Regions from separate parts of the Homo sapiens genome. Here regions 1 and 3 are each linked to region 2. The links are contacts of gene promoters, found by promoter capture Hi-C in human tissues and cell types (Jung and others, 2019). All regions are on one chromosome and are shown on one strand. The core of a region is centred on a gene start or on the middle of the fragment in contact, and the rest is flanking DNA. Distances in the headings are between cores, read along the strand shown.

The links. Contacts are between HindIII fragments. The study calls those that stand out against the background at their distance.
Region 1: a contact is called between a fragment that was not itself captured here and the fragment with the promoter of LCAT in region 2, in 1 of the 25 tissues and cell types used here (spleen).
Region 3: a fragment that was not itself captured here is called in contact with the fragment with the promoter of LCAT in region 2 in 1 of the 25 tissues and cell types used here (dorsolateral prefrontal cortex).

Annotation. Positions count from the first base shown.
Region 1 is chr16:68,100,457-68,103,597 of GRCh38, reverse strand. The region is part of intron 1 of NFATC3 (nuclear factor of activated T cells 3); the gene reads right to left. Among named protein-coding and RNA genes, the nearest start is that of NFATC3, 17 kb to the right of the region's middle. The HindIII fragment of the contact is 6,699 bases long and covers 1-3,141 here.
Region 2 is chr16:67,942,870-67,945,641 of GRCh38, reverse strand. LCAT (lecithin-cholesterol acyltransferase) reads left to right here and starts at 1,522. Exons shown (of 6, transcript NM_000229.2): 1 at 1,522-1,694; 2 at 2,430-2,586; 3 at 2,666-2,772. The coding sequence starts at 1,541. It overlaps SLC12A4 (solute carrier family 12 member 4), which reads left to right. Exons shown (of 24, transcript NM_005072.5): 22 at 89-273; 23 at 422-555; 24 at 711-2,168. The coding sequence ends at 802. RefSeq lists an enhancer at 2,391-2,772. The HindIII fragment of the contact is 35,269 bases long and covers 1-2,772 here.
Region 3 is chr16:68,118,491-68,121,431 of GRCh38, reverse strand. All of the region lies in intron 1 of NFATC3 (nuclear factor of activated T cells 3), which reads right to left. Among named protein-coding and RNA genes, the nearest start is that of NFATC3, 35 kb to the right of the region's middle. RefSeq lists a silencer at 2,231-2,360. The HindIII fragment of the contact is 9,616 bases long and covers 1-2,941 here.

The DNA of each region.
Region 1 (3,141 bases), core at 138-2,637, 160 kb before region 2:
AAAAGCACAAGCAACAAAAGAACTCAATTAATACAACTTGGTAAAATTAAAAACTTTTGTGCACCAAAGGGCACCATCAAGAAAGTGAGGCCAAGCCCAGTGGCTCATGCCTGTAATCCCAACCCTTTGGGAGGCTGAGGCAGGCAGATGACTTGAGCCCAGGAATTTGAGACCAACCTGGGCAACGTGGTGAAATCTCATCTCCACAAAATAATACAAAACTTAGCTGGGCATGGTGGCATGCACCTGTAGTCCCAGCTACTTGGAAGGCTGAGGTGGGAAGCTAACTTGAGCCAAGGAGGTCAAGGCTGCCTGCCATGAGCCAACATCACACACCATGGCATTCCAGCCTGGGCAACAGAGTGAGACCTTGTCTCAGAAGAAAATAATAATAATAATAATAAAATAAAAAAAAAAGAAGAAAAAAGAAAAGTGAAAAGACAACCTACAGAATGGGAAAAAATATCTGTAAATCTTAGATCTGATAAGGCTTTAGTATCCAGAATATATAGAGTTTTTATAACTGAACAGCAAAAAGTCAAACAGCTGAATTAAAAAATGGACAAAGCACATGAATAGGCATTTCTCCAAAGAAGATATACAAATGACCAACATGCACATGAAAAGATGTTCAACATCACTGGTCATTAGGTAATGCAAATAAAAACCACAGAGAGATACCATTTCACACTCCCAGGATGGCTTTAATTTGAAAAAATAAACAAAAAGAGAAAACAAGTGTTAGTGTGGATACAGATAAATAAGAACCCTCATATATTACTAGTGGCAATGTAAAGTGATACAGCTGAGTTGCTGTAGAAAAGAGTTTGATGGTGCCTCAAAAATTTACATAGAGAATTACCATATGACAAGCAATTACATTTGTAGGTAGTCAGGTACTGCTTGATGATGTTTTGGTCAATGACAGACCACGTATGTGAAAATGGTCTCCTGAGATTACAATGGAACTGAAAAAATCAGAACACAAAGGACAAAGAGAAGAACCTAAAAGACTCAGAGGAGGGTAACAGGTTACACATGAAGAATCAAGAATCAGAATGGCATCAGACTTTTCAACAACAATGGAATAAAATGGAGAAAATGGAGAGCAATGCCTTCAAATTTATGAGAGAAAATGATATCTAACTTAGAATTCTACAACCAGCCAAAATTAAGTGTGAGGGGAGAATGAAGACTTTTTTTTTTTTTTTTTTTTTTTTTTTCCTGAGATGGAGTCTCACACTGTCACCAGGGCTGGAGTGCAGTAGTGCAATCTCGGCTCACTGCAACCTCTGCCTCCTGGGTTCAAGCGATTCTCCTGCCACAGTCTCCCAAGTAGCTGGGATTACAGCCACGCACCACCACACCCAGCTAATTTTTTTGTATTTTTAGTAGAGACGGGGTTTCACCATGTTGGCCAGGCTAGTCTCTAACTCCTAAGCTTGTGATTCACCTGCCTCAGCCTCCCAAAGTGCTGGGATTACAGGCGTGAGCCACTGCGCCTGGTGAAGACCTTTAAATATATAAGGTCACAAAAATTTACCTCCTATTACCATCAGTAAGCTACTGAAGGAAGTACTCCACCAAAATGAGTTGCAAAGAAACAAATGACAACACAATAACAGAAATGCAAAGAACTCAAGATGACAGAGAAGTGAGGTCTCACAATGACAGATGTACAACATGCTAGGTATCCACTAATCCAGATTAGTTTAGAAGGCTCTGAGAGAAAGGAAAGTCTCCAAGAAAATAAAATTGACAGACGAATTGATGTGTCAAAAATGCTGAGACTCAGGCACCTAAAAGATACTTTGGGACCGGGTGCGGTGGGTCATGCCTGTAATCCCAGCACTTTGGGAGGCAGAGGCGGGCGGATCATGAGGTCAGGGGATCAAGACCATCCTGGATAATATGGTGAAACCCCATCTCTATCAAAAATACAAAAAATTAGCCAGGCGTGGTGGCAGGCGCCTGTAGTCCCAGCTACTTGGGAGGCTGAGACAAGAGAATGGCGTGAACCCGGGAGGCGGAGCTTGCAGTGAGCCGAGATCGCGCCACTGCACTCCAGCCTGGGCAACAGAGCGAGACTCCGTCTCAAAAAAAAAAACAAAAAAAAAAACCTAAAACTATAAAACTTCCAAAAGAAAACCTAGCAGCCAGGCACAGTAGCTCACTCCTGTAATCCCAACACTTTGGGAGGCCAAGGAGGAAGGATCACTTGAGCCCTACAGTTTGAGACAAGCCTGGCCAATGCAGTGAAACCATATCTCTACGAAAAATTTAAAAATTGGCGGGGCATGGTGGTGCACACCTGTGGTTCCAGCTATTACAGAGGCTCAGGCAGGAGGAATAGCTTGAGCCCAGGAGGTTGATGCTGCAGCGAGCCATAATCATGCCACTGCACTCCATCCTGGGCAACACGAGCAAGACTGTGTCTCAAAAAAAAGAAAAGAAAAGAAAACCGAGGAGAAAATCTTTGTGAGCATGGGTTAGGCAAAGATTTCTTAGCTGTAACACCAAAAGTGCAATCCATGAAAGAAAAAATTGGTAAGGCAAACTTCATCAAAATGTAAAACTTCTACAAAAGATACTATTAATAGAATTAAAAAACAAATCACAGATTGAGAGAAACTCTCTGCAAAGCATATATTTGATAGACTTGTTTCACACACACACACACACACACACACCCCACACACACACACACACAGAACTCTCAAAATTCAACAATAAGAAAACAACCCAATCTAAAAAGGGGCAAAGACTTAGACACTAGACCAAAAATAATATACGGATGGCAAAAATCACATAAAACAATGGTCAACAGTATTAGTCATGAGAAGAATATAATTAAAACCACAATGAGGTATCACTACACACCCATCAGAATGATTAAAAAAAAAAGGTGTTAATACCAAATGCTGCCCAAGATGCAGAGAAACTGAGTAACTCATACACCTGCTGGTGGGAATGAAAACATTTGGCAGGTTTGGTTTTTTTTTTTGTTTGTTTTGTTTTGTTTTTGAAACAGAGCCTTGCTCTGTTGCTCAGGCTGGAGTACAGCGGCACAATCTTGGCACACTGCAACCTCCGCCTCCAGGGTTCAAGCGATTTCTCATGCCTCAGCCTTCCAAATAGCTG
Region 2 (2,772 bases), core at 273-2,772:
CCCGGAGGCAAGGTGGTCACATTGGGCCAGACAGGCCCCATCCCCCTTTTCCTATGGGACCAAGGCTATCTCCTGCAATTGTCCTCAGGCCCAGCTGGTCAAGGATCGGCACTCGGCCCTGCGGCTGGAGAGCCTGTACTCGGACGAGGAAGATGAGTCTGCAGTGGGGGCTGACAAGATCCAGATGACGTGGACCAGGGACAAGTACATGACTGAGACCTGGGACCCCAGCCATGCCCCTGACAATTTCCGGGAGCTGGTGCACATTAAGCCGTGAGTGCAGCAAAAACAGCCCCAGCGGCACTGGAATCTAGGGGTGGAGGTGGGGTGGGGCAGACAAGTAGTGTTAGATGGGCCAGGGGTGGGGACCCTCCTTGCAGGATGGCTCATGGCGACCTGTGACTGGCTACACTACGTGTAGGGACCAATCCAATGTGCGGCGCATGCACACTGCTGTGAAGCTCAATGAAGTCATTGTCACGCGCTCCCACGACGCCCGCCTGGTTCTCCTAAACATGCCTGGCCCACCCAGGAACAGTGAGGGCGACGAGAACTGTATCCCTTTGTGGAGAGGCAGGCAGTTGGGAGGTGGATAGCATGGGAGGTCAAGCCAGCGGCTTCTCTCCTGGGCACCCCTGGGTGGGCATGGCCCAGGTGGCCCGGGTTGCCCGTTGATTCTGTTGTTGCCTCCTTGACTTGAGGCCCTGCAGACATGGAGTTCCTCGAGGTGCTGACCGAGGGCCTTGAGCGGGTGCTGTTGGTGCGCGGTGGTGGCCGTGAAGTCATCACCATCTACTCCTGAGCCCAGTGTCATCTTGTGGCCTGGAGTCGAGGTCTTGGCCAGGACATAACAAGCTGTGGTCTGGGGTAACAGCCTCTTCCCAGCACCCACCTGCCAGCCCTGCTTGCCTGGCCCTGTCCTGGACCCAGCTTTGCTAGGTCTCCTTGGAAACCAGGCCTGGGCCTCAAAATGGAGATGGATCCCAGGTCTTGTGGGACCCTGGGATGTTTGGGGACTTTACTATCTAGCACCCCAGTAGGCCTGTCCTGGCCAGAGAAGACTGGTAGGGGCCGAGTGGGGTTTGAAGGCAGCCGGCCCGGCCCAGCCCAGGAGCGCTATTTATTGCATATTTATTGTTTGGATGTCACCATCAGAGACGAAGGGAAGGGTAGCCAGGGAGGGAGTCCAGCCCAGCTGCCTGCAGGAAGATCTGGCTCAGTCTACTATGGGCAGGGCCCCCCACCAAGCTGAGCCGAATGGAGACAGCTGAGCTGAGGCCTGACTTTTTCAATAAAACATTGTGTAGTTCTGGGCCTCCTGCTGCCCCGGCTCTGTTTCCCCTGGCGCCAAGAGAAGAAGGCGGAACTGAACCCAGGCCCAGAGCCGGCTCCCTGAGGCTGTGCCCCTTTCCGGCAATCTCTGGCCACAACCCCCACTGGCCAGGCCGTCCCTCCCACTGGCCCTAGGGCCCCTCCCACTCCCACACCAGATAAGGACAGCCCAGTGCCGCTTTCTCTGGCAGTAGGCACCAGGGCTGGAATGGGGCCGCCCGGCTCCCCATGGCAGTGGGTGACGCTGCTGCTGGGGCTGCTGCTCCCTCCTGCCGCCCCCTTCTGGCTCCTCAATGTGCTCTTCCCCCCGCACACCACGCCCAAGGCTGAGCTCAGTAACCACACACGGCCCGTCATCCTCGGTAAGCCCCCACCAGGCCCCTGATGCACCACGCCAGACCCTGGGGAGCCTGGGCCCCAGCCCCTGGCAGCTGACCTGGCCAAAGCCCTTCTGCCCTGCATAAGCCCCGACATAAGTACCTGCCCTGGTGTGGGGAGGGGCCAAAAGCTTGTCCCTTAGAGGAATGACGTCCCTTCTCCCACCACACTGTGACTCTCAGTTGTCTAACCCAGGGGGGGCGGAGTGGGGGACGGGGTGTGCCTGAGGTCTTGGCTGGGGCATCACAAGCTGTGGTCAGTCACAGCCACACCAGACTCTGGGCCAAGCCCCACCACTCCTTCCTTGGCCCCCACCCACCAAGGACAAGATGCCCAGCCCAGGATCGGTGAGCAGGAGAGGCCCATCCATGCCCGGCCCCTATTAGGCCCAGCCCCCATGCCCCCAGACCTATCTGTTCCCACCTTGGACTTTGGCAATAAAGGAGCGCCAGACTGGGTGTTTGCTCTGCAGAGGCAGGGGTCAGCGGCCTTGGCCTCAGCACCTCAGCGCCTTCCCTTCCTCAGGGAAGCCTGGGCTTTGGCTACTGGGGGGACAGCAGGGAGAGGGGGTGTAAGCAGGGGAGGGTAAGTGTGCTTTGTACCTGGGGGTTGAGGGTATGGGAGGTGGGGGGTGGGTCTGGTCACTGCAGCATCTGGGGTGACGGGGGTAAGGGTCACGGGGGGAATCCAGAGTCCAGAGTGAGGGCTGCTGCTCACAGTGCCCGGCTGCCTGGGGAATCAGCTAGAAGCCAAGCTGGACAAACCAGATGTGGTGAACTGGATGTGCTACCGCAAGACAGAGGACTTCTTCACCATCTGGCTGGATCTCAACATGTTCCTACCCCTTGGGGTAGACTGCTGGATCGATAACACCAGGTACAGCCATGTGCTCCACCCTAGCCCCAACACGCTGCCCCTTGGCTACTGGCTGCTGAGTGGCACCCCCGCCCCGCAGGGTTGTCTACAACCGGAGCTCTGGGCTCGTGTCCAACGCCCCTGGTGTCCAGATCCGCGTCCCTGGCTTTGGCAAGACCTACTCTGTGGAGTACCTGGACAGCAGCA
Region 3 (2,941 bases), core at 63-2,562, 180 kb before region 2:
GGGATTACAGGTGTGAGGGAGCGTCTGTGCCCAGCTCAATAAATGTGTTTATTAAAAAAAAAAAAACACATCCATAATTCTAAAAAATACTCATAGCATACAGGCTGCAGTGAGCTCAGATCACGCCACTGTACTCCAGCCTGGGTGACACAGCAAGACTCCGTCTCAAAAAAAAAAAAAAAAAAAAAAGAAAAGAAAAGAAATGAGATATTCCTAGGCTGCAAAGAACAGAAAATCCAACTCAATGTAGCTGAAAAAGGGGGAGGGGACACAGGCTGAATATCCCTTATCCAAAATGCTTGAGGCCAGAAGTGCTTGGGATTTTGGATTTTTTTTTTTTGGCCCATTTACAAATACACAATGAGATATCTTGATATGGGACCCAAGTCTAAACATGAAATACACTTATGTTTCATATATACCTTATTCACATAGCCTGAAAGGTAATTTTGGACAATATTTTTTAATAATTCGGTGAATGAAAAAAAGTCTGTGTTAAGAATTCTCCACTTGTGGCATCATGTCAGAGCTAAAAAGTATAGGATATTGGAACATTCCAGATTTTGAATATGACCTGTATATATTATCCAACATAACAACCTGCATTATCAACCTGTATATATTATCCAACATAACAAGTAGTCAAAGGTAGGAGAGTTCCAAAAGTGGGTTTTTCTTTGTTTGTTTGTTTGTTTGTTTGAGATGGAGTCTTGCTCTGTCGCCCAGGCTGGAGTGCTGTGGCGCAATCTTGCCTCCTGGATTCAAGCAATTCTCCTGCCTCCTGTCTCAGTCTCCTGAGTAGCTGGGACTACAGGCACTCGCCACCATGCCTAGCTAATTTTTTTTTTTTTTTTTTTTTCTGAGACAGAGTCTCTCTCTGGCTTGAATGCAGTGGTGCGATCTTGGCTCACTGCAACCTCTGCCTCCGAAGTTCAGGCGATTCTCAAGCCTCAGCCTCCCAAGTAGCTGGAATTACAGGTGCCTGCCATGACACTCGGCTAATTTTTGTTATTTTTAGTAGAGACAGGGTTTTGCCATGTTGTCCAGGCTGGTCTCAAACTCCTGACCCCAAGCAATCTACCCTCCTTGGCCTCCCAAAGTGCCAGGATTACAAGCATGAGCCACCACACCCGGACTTTTTTTTTTTTTTTTGAGACTAGGTCTCGCTCTGTCACCCAGGCTGGAGTGCAGTGGTGCACTCATAGCTCACTGCTGCCTCAAACTTCTGGGTCAAGTGATCCTCCCACCTCAACCTTTCAAGTAGCCGAGACCACAGGTGCATGCCACCACTCCCAGCAATTTTTTTTTTTTTTTTTTGTAGAGACAGGGTCTCGTTTTGTTGCCCAGCCTAATCTTGAACTCCTGGGCTCAGGCAATCCAACTGCCCCAGCCTCCCAAAGTGCTGGGATTACAGTTCAACAATGTTCTTCAGAAATGTTTCTTTATTTCACTTTGCCATTTTTGGGGAGCTAACTTTGTGCTGTTCATTTTTCAACCACATATACCTATTCTGTCTACACTGGAAACAACATGATTCAACTTATTCATTTAACAAAAAAATTTTTTAGCAACTACTATGTAAGCAGGCATGTTCTGAATACTAAAAACACCATGGTAAACAAAACAAAATCCCCTCCTCATGGAGCTTACATTCTAGTAAAATATGTCAGGTAGTGATATTTGCTGTAAGAGAAAATAAAACGGGAAAAAATATAGAGGAGGCAAAGATGTTAATTTAATAGGAAAGTCTGGAAAGCCTTCTCTAATACTTGAGGAAATAGCAGAAGAATATTAATGTAACTGAGCTATACAGAAATTTAGGGGCATAATGCAGGCAGAGGATAATAGTAAGTGCAAAGACCTGAGGTACAGCATTGTTGAAGTGTACTGTATGAGAAAAAACAAGGCCAGTGGGACTTGAACTGAGTAAGGAGGCAGAATAATGAGAGCTACGGGTGGTCAGGGAGAGGCTAGTCAAGTAAGGCCTTACGAGATGGGAAACCACTGGAGCATTCTAAACAGAAAAGTATCATCATTTGATATATATGAACTGATATAAATTTAGGAGGCTACTGTAATCATCCAGGTGAGAAAAGATGGAATACAGGACCTAAGTGGTAGTGAGCTGTAAAAGCAGAAGCAGCATTAAGAAGTCAGATTTTGGATTAAAGTAGTGCTGACGGAACTTGTTGACTGGATGTGAAAGAACAGTCAAGGGTGACACCAAGGTTTAAAGCCTTGAACTATTATTAAAAACACAGTATTGGTCGGGCGCAGTGGCTCACACCTTTAATCCCAGCACTTTGAGAGGCCGAGGCGGGTGGATCACGAGATCAGGAGATCACGACCATGCTGGCTAACACGGTGAAACCCCATCTCTACTGAAAATACAAAAAATTAGCCGGGCGTGGTGGCAGGCGCCTGTGGTCCCAGCTGCTCGGGAGGCTGAGGTGGGAGAATGGCGTGAACCCAGGAGGCAGAGCTTGCAGTGAGCCAAGATCGCGCCATTGCACTCCAGCCTGGGCAACAGAGCGAGGCTGTCTCAAAAAACAACAACAACAATACAGTATTTCTGAAATTTTCTGAATTTCTGAAAGAACAGCAATTACTGAAATAAAGAAAGTGAGACAGACTTGAGATAAGAAACCAAAACTTCTACTTTGTACATATTAAATATGAGAGTCCAGTAAGCTTTCCAAGTGGAAATGTCAAATAGATATTTGTGCATAAGAACACAAGCTAGCTATGTAAATGTGGGAATCATTAACGTATATATGAAATTTAAAGCCATAAGACCAAAAGATCACTAAGAAATTAGTACAAATAGAGAAGAAAGTAGGCAACTGAGGCACAAGGAACTCCAAAGTTTAGGATTAGGGAGAAAAAGAAGAATGAGTTAAGAGGTTAGAAGAGACATCAGTGAAATGGAACAATAACCAAA